Regions from separate parts of the Homo sapiens genome. Here regions 1, 2 and 3 are each linked to region 4. Evidence: promoter capture Hi-C in 16 types of primary human blood cells and fetal thymus (Javierre and others, 2016). All regions are on one chromosome and are shown on one strand. The core of a region is centred on a gene start or on the middle of the fragment in contact, and the rest is flanking DNA. Distances in the headings are between cores, read along the strand shown. Region 1 has its middle 280 kb from the start of LINC01689. Region 2 has its middle 260 kb from the start of LINC01689. Region 3 has its middle 240 kb from the start of LINC01689. Region 4 holds the start of NCAM2 (neural cell adhesion molecule 2).

The links. The method cuts DNA at HindIII sites, captures the fragments that hold promoters and counts their contacts. A CHiCAGO score of 5 or more calls a contact.
Region 1: a contact is called between a fragment that was not itself captured here and the fragment with the promoter of NCAM2 in region 4, in 2 of 17 cell types (total B cells and naive B cells). The highest score is 7.1, in total B cells.
Region 2: a fragment that was not itself captured here is called in contact with the fragment with the promoter of NCAM2 in region 4 in 2 of 17 cell types (total B cells and naive B cells); the score reaches 9.6 in total B cells.
Region 3: a fragment that was not itself captured here is called in contact with the fragment with the promoter of NCAM2 in region 4 in 2 of 17 cell types (total B cells and naive B cells); the score reaches 16.8 in total B cells.

What each region holds. Positions count from the first base shown.
Region 1 is chr21:24,040,166-24,042,865 of GRCh38, reverse strand. No RefSeq gene overlaps it. Among named protein-coding and RNA genes, the nearest start is that of LINC01689, 280 kb to the left of the region's middle. The HindIII fragment of the contact is 4,421 bases long and covers 1-2,700 here.
Region 2 is chr21:24,058,401-24,061,100 of GRCh38, reverse strand. No RefSeq gene overlaps it. Among named protein-coding and RNA genes, the nearest start is that of LINC01689, 260 kb to the left of the region's middle. The HindIII fragment of the contact is 853 bases long and covers 1,005-1,857 here.
Region 3 is chr21:24,079,703-24,082,459 of GRCh38, reverse strand. No RefSeq gene overlaps it. Among named protein-coding and RNA genes, the nearest start is that of LINC01689, 240 kb to the left of the region's middle. The HindIII fragment of the contact is 5,024 bases long and covers 1-2,757 here.
Region 4 is chr21:20,997,044-20,999,820 of GRCh38, reverse strand. It overlaps NCAM2 (neural cell adhesion molecule 2), which reads right to left and starts at 1,412. Exons shown (of 18, transcript NM_004540.5): 1 at 1,203-1,412. The coding sequence starts at 1,257. The HindIII fragment of the contact is 4,236 bases long and covers 483-2,777 here.

The DNA.
Region 1 (2,700 bases), core at 91-2,590, 3.0 Mb before region 4:
CAAACCTCTGCTTCTGTTTACCTGTGTAAACACAGAATGTATTATGTTGATGTAGTTTTATGGGAAGAAATTGCTAGAGCTTTGGAGAATAACTCAAGCGTTTTATCTGTGTTTGCACTAAACCTAAACTTGGATTGAATATCTTTCTATTTATCTATTTTGCTTAAAAAAAACTAGCAGGTCTGAGCCATCTCAAGAGAAACTGTGTTTTTCTTAAATGAACAGCATATACTTAGATTGGATGTTTTGTCTTAAAATATTCAATATTTCCTTATTTTAGGAGCAGAAACTAAGACTTAACAATGATTTAAAGCAAGAAATACTTTAGGTGTAAAAAATTCAAGCATGCAAGCAGTTCATTTTGCAAAATCCCTTCCAATTTTTCAGACAATCAATGCCTTTTTTGCCTGTTCATATAGATTTTTAAGGAGATTCTTACGAGAGCAAAATTAATTATGCATTTTCCCCTCTTTATCATCTTCCATTTCTTGCAGGGGTGTGGATTGGAAATTTTTTTTTTTTTTTTTTTAGACAGAGTCTTACTCTGTCGCCCAGGCTGGAGTGTAGTGGTGCAATCTCGGCTCACTGCAACTTCTGCCTCTGGGTTCAAGTGATTCTCATGCTTCAGCCCCCCCATCCCCAAGCAGCTTGGACTACAGGCATGCACCCCCATGCCCAGCTAATTTTTGTATTTTCAGTAGAGACAGGGTTTCACCATGTTGGTCAGGCTGATCTCAAACTCTGGACCTCAAAAGTGCTGGGATTACAGGTGTGAGCCACTACGCCCAGCCTGGAAATTTTCTTAAGACTACCTGCAACCTGCCCATTAGTATCTGTGGTATTCCTGATAGGTCATTCTGCCTTTTCAGAAGTCAGGAGATCGCAAGAGAAGAATCAGGAAATTTACTAGAAAATATTCAAGTTTGTGCTATTTGAAGGCTACAAATACAATCTCCTGGTCTGTCCACTGTTGGTCACTGGTAAAGAGATCAAGAGAGAGGATGGCAAATGTAGCACTGTTTCCCATAGTGTCATTGAGAATGCATTAAGTTTTCTAATTGTGAGTAATGACATGAGGCATTTTGCATGTAATATGCATGTTATAATTAAACCAAATCCTTACTATTATGTTTTCATCAGATAGAGTCCCGGCAGGAAATAGAGAGCCCATTGAAACTTGGCAAATTAAAGATAACTAAATAATGGGATTATTGTTGTAGATGTAGTCAGAGTTTAGGTGAGCCAGCAGGGAGTAGTACAGGGCTTCAGGCCTGCAACAGGAGGGAGACTTCACCAAGCCTATGATTGAAGGGTTGTGATTTGTTACAGTGTCCAGAAAGAGTAGCTGTCTGGACAGGTCTACCTCATAGGAGTTGGGGCTTTCTATAGAGGGATCCTGTTGCTCCAGGGTGAATCAATATGTGTCTCAGTCCATTCAGGCTTCTATAACAAAACAGCATAAACTGGGTGGCCTATACATCACAAAATCTATTTCTCAGAGTTCTAGAGCCTGAGAAGTACGAGATCAAGGAGGTGGCAGACGCAGTGTCTCATGAGGGTCAACTTTCTGGTCCATAGACAGTGCCTTCTTGCTGGACCCTCCCATGGTGGAAGGGGTAAGAGGTGTCTCTTAGGCTTCTAAGGCACTAATCCCGTTCATGAGGACTATACCATCATAACCTTATTACATTCCAAAAGCCCTACCTTCTGCCATGATTACACTGGGTGTTAGGATTTCAACATACAAATTTGTAGGTATACAAATATTCAGACCGTAGTCATAGTGAAGTAGTACTAACACCTCTTTTTCTTCTTAATTTCTGGATATCCTCCTGGGGTCACCTATTTGCCAAACCCAACAGCAAAACCAAAAATAAATCAACCCACTGCAGCAATTTATACAGTTTACATTTCTGAATACATAAAGCACATGACAGAGTAGATAATGAATATAAAAGGGTAAGCCAATGGCATCCATTACAGTCCCCAAGGCCTTCTGTGATCTGAACCATTCTTTGTTTCCACCATTTCTATTGCACGCCATTTTCTTAATGACTTACTTAATGACTTACTTTCCTCGGACGACCACAGCCTTCTTTCTCTTCCTACCAATGAAGCAAATGTATACCCTAGGGCCTTTCTATTATGTTTCATCTACCAGGAAAGGTCTTCTTTAGATCCTAGATTCCTAACCATTTAGGAACATTACAATCGTCACCTACTCATTGAGGCACTCCAGAACCACCCAATTAAAAACATCTTCCTCACAGAGTCACTTTTAACAAACTGTCTTTTTTATTTACCTCATAACAGATGCCACACCATACAATCTATCTTGGTCATTTATTTGTTGTTTTATCCACTTATGAGAATTTAGGTTTCTAGTCTAAGCACATTGTCTTTCTTGTTCATCACTGTATATTCAGTTTTTCAGAACAGTTCCTGATCCATATGTTATTTAGCTTATATACCCAGCTTACTTTCTCTTATAGATAGGAAACCTGTGGCACATGTGTGTCCAAGCTAGTAAGTGGTATGACACTAAAGTATAAGCTCAATTGTCCTTAACTCCTTTAAGAATCACCACTAAATTACACTACTTCCTAAAATCATAATTTGAAAGAGAGAACAGTTTTGCTTTGAAACTAGACTCATTAAAAACAAGTGTGTGGTTTACAGATACAAACATTTCCAAGTTAA
Region 2 (2,700 bases), core at 182-2,681, 3.1 Mb before region 4:
TAAAGCACATTACAGATAAATTTTGATTTTAATTTATTATTTTTAAATTTTATAATTTAATTATTTTTCAACTTTCCAAAGAAAATCATTATTATAAATCTAATAAATAAAATTATATAATTCTAGGATTATATACAAACCCATACTTCCCTAATTTGTAATCCTGGGTGAAAGAATTTTTCTTTCAAGATTTTATACATATACATGTATATGTACATATATAAACATGTTATATATTACATATATGCTATAAAATAGTGTTCAAAGGTTCTTATTGATATTTAAAAATTTTACATACATACATTGTTATATAAGTGATATGGTCTGGATTTGTGTGCCCTTCCAAATCTCATGTCAAATTGGAAGAGAGGTGGGAGGTGACTGGATCATGGGAGCAGATTTCCCCCTTGCTGTTCTCGTGATAGTGAGTGAGTTCTCATGAGATCTGATAGTTTAAAAGTGTGTGGCCGCCTCCTCTTTCTCTCTTTCTCTCTCCTGAAGCCATGTAAGATGTGCCTTGCTTCACCTTCGCTTTCTGCCATGATTGTAAGTTTTCTGAGACCTCCCCAGCCGTGGGGAGCTGTGAGTCAACTAAACCTCTCTTCTTTTTAAATTACCCAGTCTCAGGTAGTTCTTTATAGCAGTGTGAAAACAGACTAGCACAGTAAGTGAAGGACATTATTGAGGTTTATAAAAATAATATATTTATACATCTAATAGAAAAAATTTTTAACATATTTCTACTAATCATACTTGCACAGATTATATAATCATATTATAAAATATGATATGTAGTGTCGGACTGTATAGTATCAATACTTGTTTTCTACAGATTCTAATTAATAAGGGAAAGAGACCCAGCATCACATATGGACTGAATTACAGCATCAAGTTCATTGCATCAAAATCAAGGCTGCTATATCAGAGAAAAATAGCCTGTTCTGAAGCCAAAGTGAGGCTTTCAACTCCTTCTCCTCAATCTTCCATTAACATAGTAGAAAGCTTCCTACATTTTTTCCTGTGCTTCAACTTCGACTTTCTGACACAAAAGTAATTAGAAGTTCTCTTGTATGAAGATTTAGGGCTTATGAATAGATATATAGAACAGGTCCTGATTATTAATCTGTTTCTGTTTTATAGATTATAGAATAGAGGTGGTTATATGATGATGCTAAAGTGAAATAGAAACACTGGTTTATTTTCAGATATATTTTATTCAAAAAGACTTGTGAAATGGGATAAGTAGGTTAGTCAATGGCATACTATAGCTACACATAATAAGCAACAAACCTACAGACACAGAGTTTCTACAGGATCTTGATGACTATTTAAAATTAATCAGATATTTTGTTTTTACAAACTCAAAATATAAATTATAATAACATGTACTGAAATATATAATATTTATAACTTACTGCAATAAGTAGAAAATGAGTGATTTTGATGTTTTAAATGTAAACATTGAAAAATTAAATAAATTTGAATCAATATTCTTGATAAACATCGTACATTTTAAAAGTATGGAAGCATTTCCCATTATCCTACTTACAAGAGACCTAGGGAATTTCATGATATAGATTATTTCATCTCAAGTAAAATAGCATAATCATAAAGAAAAAGGCATATAGTCATAGGCAAAAGGAAAGGCTTAAGAAGTGATACAGTTTATTATTATGAAAACCCCCTGCATATCTTAAATTCCTTAGATTGTTCTGATTTGCATACCATTAAGCGGTACTACTTTTATAGAGATTTTGGGGAGAATAATGTCAAACAGTTTTATGGAATTATTCATTTGCCATAAGGTGAGACTGAAACACGCAATAGCATATAGCACTCATTATGTGGTTACAAGCTTGTTTCTTTGCTTTCTTGCATAGGGAGCCAGGTAAACAGGCAACCTTTTTACTATTTTGTCAATTATTAAATGTACTTAAGAATGTATGATAACAATATATTAAATATTTTGAAAGTTCAACTTATCGTCTATGAAGGTTTGGCCACTGAAAAACAAATAATCAGTGCATAAATACAACAAACTTATTTTAAATGTCATACCTCTGTAAATAATGGTATTTTCTTACATTCTGTCAAAACAGCTGTAACATTAATCTAATAAAAAGAATCAGATTGACACATTTGAGACATTTTCCTTTCTAATATATGACTGCTTGGGATTTAATACATGACTTAATTTAATGAAAATATCAGACTAACTGAAAGAAACCTGGGAGTGTAGAAATAGCAGAGCCACTCTTGCTATTTACCAACAAAGACATAAATTCTTAATACAGACATTCACCATAATGATTATAGAATTAAAGATAAGACATTACTCAAAAAAGGAAAGACGGCACAACATAAGGTATCAATTAAAAGCACAAAAATACAAAGCATCCCAGGAGGATACTAGCCATAGGAAGATATCAATGGGTTGTAAACATGGGCAGCATTGCTTCATCACTCTGACCACAGAATGGAGAAAAGACGAGAAAGGGAGCCAGAAAGGATATGGTCATATAAGTTAGAAAGCTATTATGTAGTTTTAGGTGAGATGATGTTCACTTGAGCTGGAGAGAGTATTGGTAGAAATGGGGAAAACTGGAGAAATTAGGGAAATATTTAGGTGATAAAATCAAAAGAACATGATGCCTCATTTCAGGAGAAGGAAATATGAAGTTTGCCACTTAGGTTTCTGGT
Region 3 (2,757 bases), core at 195-2,694, 3.1 Mb before region 4:
AATTTGAGCATGAAAGTCAAATAGTCGAATGAAAGTGAATGCAATATAAAGAGAAGTGGAGATTATTGGCTGCTGGGGTGGGTTCAAGGATGAATATATACATCAAAGAGTTTTTAAAAGCCCAAGGGGTTTTATATTGAAGATGAGTAATAAAAGTAAGAAGAGAAAGAAAAGGTGGTAAAACAGCGCCTAAGCATTTCAATATTTTTTTAATCTCTCAATGAGATTTCATACAGACTCCATGTACTTTATGATTTTCACAAAATAATCACCAAGGATTTGATGCTAACAAGTTTGAAAATTATTTTCTATAATGCTAAATTCAATAAATGGGGAAATATGTTTAAAAATGAAGAAAATTGAAAGAAGCTCCTTCAACATGGCAACATATAATCTAGTGCTTTCTAGATTTTAATATGTAAATTATGGTATGTGGGGATGGATGCTTTTCATGTCTATGAATAAGCACCATTTATATCAATAACCACCATTTATATCAATTTCAAAAAATAAAAATTCATTATTTTATTAACTTTCCTTTAACTAACAGGAAATAACTAAAAGGAGAGTAATTTCCCAATAAATTATTTTTTCCTTATAATTAGTCCTTTTGATTGCCAACTTAATTTTTAATATGATATAATCATATTTAAACTTGTTTTATTTGACAAGAATCATGTATTGGTTTACTTGGGCTGCCTTAACAAAGCACCACAAATCAAGCCACTTAACAGAAACTTATTGTCTCACAGTTTTGGAGTCTTGAAGTTCAAAATCAAGGTTTCATCAGGATTGGTTTCTCCTGAGAATGTGAGGACAAGACCCGTTCCAGTCCTCTATCCTTGACTTGTTCATGGCCATCTTCTCTCTGTGTCTTTTCATATTATCCTGCCTCTGGGTGTGTCTATCTCAGTGCCCAAATTTCCCCTTTTTATACCAGTCATTCCAATTACATTGTATTACGACACACCCTAATGATTTCATTTAAATTTGATTACATCTGTAAAAATGGTATCTTCAAATACAATCTGAGGTTCTCGGGATTAGGACTCCAACATCTCTTTGAGGGATGGAGTACATAATTCAGTGTGCGGCAAATAGTCTGCATGGAACATAGTGCTTGGCATTGTCTTTTTTTCTTATCAATGACCTAAATAATGTATGGTGCCAGTGGAAATTTTTACATATAAATTTTATGACATGATAGGCAAAATAGATACGTGGTAAAGTAGAAAATGGCATATTCATATCAATTTTTAAATTAACCTTATTTCTAATTTTAATAGTTATTTTTAGTCAAATGCTTTAAAGCAAACCCAAGTATCAAATAAGTGCAGATAATACTATTGGCAAATACTTGTATTATTTTACTGGTTTGTTATGTTATAATTAAATTAATGGAGTTTCTCAATATAAAAAATAATAACTATATTTAATTATAAAATTTAGTAAATCAGGATTTATATTATGCTTTGTGGTATATTTTCCTTTAAAAGAATAACATCAAGAAATTCTTTATATACACACACATACACACGTGTGTGTGTATATATGTTAATATATATAATGTATGTGTGCACACATGCATGCACACACACATATATACACATATATACATATACATGTATAATTTTTTTCTGGGAAAAAGTCAAGATTGATTTAAATTATTTCTTCTTCTGGCATATTTCTCCCACATATGCAAAGATTATTTATATTAATTATATTTTGGCTGCAATGTGTACTCTGTTAAAGAAAAATATTTTATCAGATGAGACCAGCAAACAGAAACTGATTTTATACTAATACTATTATGAGCAATAGCAGAAAGAGAGAGCACAATCCAAGTCTTAGTACTCAGCTCTGTTGAAATAGAGGGCCACAGAAGTCCTAAAAGTGAAGATGGGGGGGTCTTAGTCTTTCAGTGTTTGCTAATTGTCTTTATCCAAATGAAAATAAACTTTCTCCTATCTTCATGAAAGGATGCAATTTTACAACTTGGAGTAAAGTACCCACAGTAGTTAGGCTTCTACCTTCACGCAGAAACTGAGAGAGGAGTCTATCTTCCTTGATGATTAAGTTTCAGACATGGCTCCCAGGATCTTGGGAATGACAGTCCTGGGTTATAAAACAGGCAAGAGGCTTTTTAAAGGATTTACATCTCAAAGGAACAGAGAAAGAGTTTACAATTAGAGGTTTTCTAAGGTAAACTGCTCAAAAAAGGGAGTTCAGGGACCTAGAGGCAGGAAAAACTTGTCTAAAGTCTGGTCATAATTGGCCTTCATTGTTTTAAGGTATGTTTTGAAAGTTTTTATCATGAAAGATGTTAAATTTTATCAAATATTTTTTCAGCATCTATTGAAATGATCATATGGTTTCTGTCCCTGATTTTGCTGAGGTGATGTATCGCATTTCTTGATTTGCATAAGTTGAACCATCCTTGCATTCCTGAAATGAATCTCTTTTGATCACGAAGAACGATCTTTTTGACATGTTGTTGAACAGTTTGCTAACATTTTATCGAGCACTTTTGCATCTATGTTCATCAAATATATTGGCCTGTGGTTTTCTTTTTTAGCTATGCCTTTGTCTGGATTGGGTATGCTGGCCTCATAGAATGAATTTGAAAGTATTCTGTTCTTTTCAGATTTTGGAAATAGTTTAAGAATAGCTGATATCATTTCTTCCTTAAGTGTTTTGTAGAACTCAGCAATGAAGAAATCAGGTCCTGGACCTTTCTTTGATAGGAGAATTTTTCAG
Region 4 (2,777 bases), core at 163-2,662:
CTCTGTGGAAGAGCAGAAACCAACTTCTGGGCTTAAAATGGAGTTCTACCACCCCCTGCTGGACCAAACGAGCAATACAGAAGAGGCTAAAAATGCTTAGAACTGAATATCTTGGGGATATTTTAACTTGTCTTGTAATTTATTATATTATTTTAAAAAACCAATTTCACACTACACTAACAACATAACATTCTTTGCAATCATTACATATCTCAAAATTAGTGCTATTTTATTTTTCCTTTAAAGACTTTCACCAATGCATGTTTTAGCATTTTGTGTCCCTAATTAAACGTCCAAACTTGTCTGGACAGTTGAAAATGCTTCCATTTATTGTAAATATATTTCATGTGAGTGTTTACTATCTAAACAGCCAGATAAATTCATATCTATCTCTCTAGAGACAAACAGTGATAGCTTCCACAAATTCCCTCTCAGGTTATTCTACCAGGCTATTCATTTTTTTTTTTTAAGAGATAAAAGCTTCCACCAGTTCTCCCACAACCCCAAAAATCCTCTACAGGTGTAATTACAATGTAATGTTATAAAATGATTCCACCTTTCTGTATTAATAAGGGGTTGGGGTCAAAATGAATGACTGCAACACATCCCTAGTTTTATCCATTTGCTTTCTTACACACAATATCCACGGCCCCTCTCTTAGTTTCCAACAGAAATAAGCCATCATCATTCACTTCATAGTCAGGAATTAGGGTTTTGGGAAAGGGGTGGAAAAAAAAAAGAGTCTCCAAGAATCGAACGTCTTGCACACAGCAGATATTTTGCAAATGAGTTTAACACTGATAGTTTTTGCTGCTTCTGTAAAACACCATCGTGCCCTTTCCTTCCGCAACCTCAGATATTTCACTGTTAACACACTCATCCAATTTCTGATAATAAAAATAAGAGAAAGCCATAATCCCAGAGGAAAAAAAAAGAAGAAGAAGAAGCGGTTTCCCTGGATATCCTGCTCACCGATTCCCCTCTCCAATTCTGTATTTTCCCTTCTCTTATTTAAGGGTCTCCACACAACAGATACAATTTTAGGGACAGCTAGGAGAAAGAACGAAAATAATAATAACAACAACAGCAATAACTGTAACTTTAGTTCTTTCATTTCATTCTTCCTGCGCCTCCCTCTTTGCCTCTCTTGGCCGGGTGGAAGGGGGAGGGAAAGTAAATGCAATAAAGCGCCACACTCCTACCTTGCCCGCTACTGACAAGCAACCCCAGCAGGTAGAAGGAGAGGAGGAGGCTCATGTTCAGGACGTGACACCGGTGGACAGTTTCAAAGTTATTAAGTCCAGCCCTGGAGAGAGAACCTTTCGCTGCCCCGGCCGCCTCTGCTAGAGCCGCCGCCGCCGCTCCCGCGGTGCCCCAGCCGCCCGCAGCCCGCGCGCTCCTCCTCGCAAAGTGACTGCAAGCTCCGCTCTTGCCGCACTATATCCAGGCAGCGGCGGCGGCAGCGGCGGCAGAAGCAGCAGCAGCAGCGGCCGCCGCGGCGGCAGCAGAGCCGGGCGGGGAGGGCGGCGGGGGCGGGGGCGCGGCGAGGGGAGGTGCGGCCGAGGCGTATCCCTCCGCGCTGCACGGCGGCCGCTCTTCCGCGAGGCGCGCGGTCCCGGGATTCGTCCGCAGTGGAGCTCGAAGTCACGGGTTCGGTCCCCGGTGCCTCCGCCTAGAGGGGCGGCCGCGATCGCGAAGGCGCCACTCGCCCGCCGGCCATCCGCAGGTTCATGCACGCCCTGAGCCGAGAAGGGCGTGGGGATGGGGGCAGCCTGGAGCTCCTTCACAGCCGCCGGCTGCCTCAGGACAGCTGAGCTGATGCTGAGCTGAGCTGAGCTGAGCTGATGCTCATGCAGATGCTGATGCTGATGCTGATGCTGATACTGATACTGCAGGCGACCGCCCCGAGCGCGCCCCGGCTCAACGTGAATGGGGGATCTGGAGGCGGGCGGTGTGCCCCGCAGCTTATTCCTTTTGGGCGTGGGAGGAGGGAGATTCTTGTCTCTCCGTGGACCTCCTTCTCCCTCTCTCGCTCAAACCTGGAGCAGGCTGGCCCCTTGCGCGGCTGTCCCCTTCCCACGCTCCCCACCCCGCCGCGACAGAGGGGAAGCAATTGTACCCTAAAGTCTACACTGTCTGTCTCCTCAGGCGCTAAAGGGTGGGCGGAAAAATAACGTACAGAGTGTTTCCTCTACATCTCGACCCATTGCTGTTGGGAGCGGCACCTTACGGGAGAGACACTGGAGAGGGGACGAGCCGCGGGAGGGGCTGCGTTCAACTCAGCCTTAGCCTCAGCTGTGTCCTTAGAGGCCTGAAGTCTCTCCTGGCCTCACTCCGCGGGCTCTGCCCTCGGTCCCAGTGCGCTGCACTGGCCAGATCCCCGCCAGGAGTGCACCGAGGGAGGACTGCAAATGTGCAAAGATGAGTTGGGTCGCGGGGGGGAGACCTTCCCCAGATCAGTGCCCTACCCCGAACACCCACGTACCCGCGTGTGCGAGTGTAAATTGAAGTGAGGGAGCCGTGGCAAACGCCCGGAACTAACTCTCTGCTCCTTAAGATTGGGGCTTATCGTTATTTCTCCTAGAAGGGTAGGAAAACGTTTGTGAGATTAACGTCACCTCTCCTGCAAGAGCGGTTAAGAGGCAGAATCACCGGCCCGGGTGCGGAGCCCATGTCAATCTGGCCTGGGGTTACCGCGACCTGCAAACGCTGACGATGGGTCCTTTCATCTGCACTTTCTCTCTGGCTCCTTAGAAAACTCAACTGCCTCGCCCCGG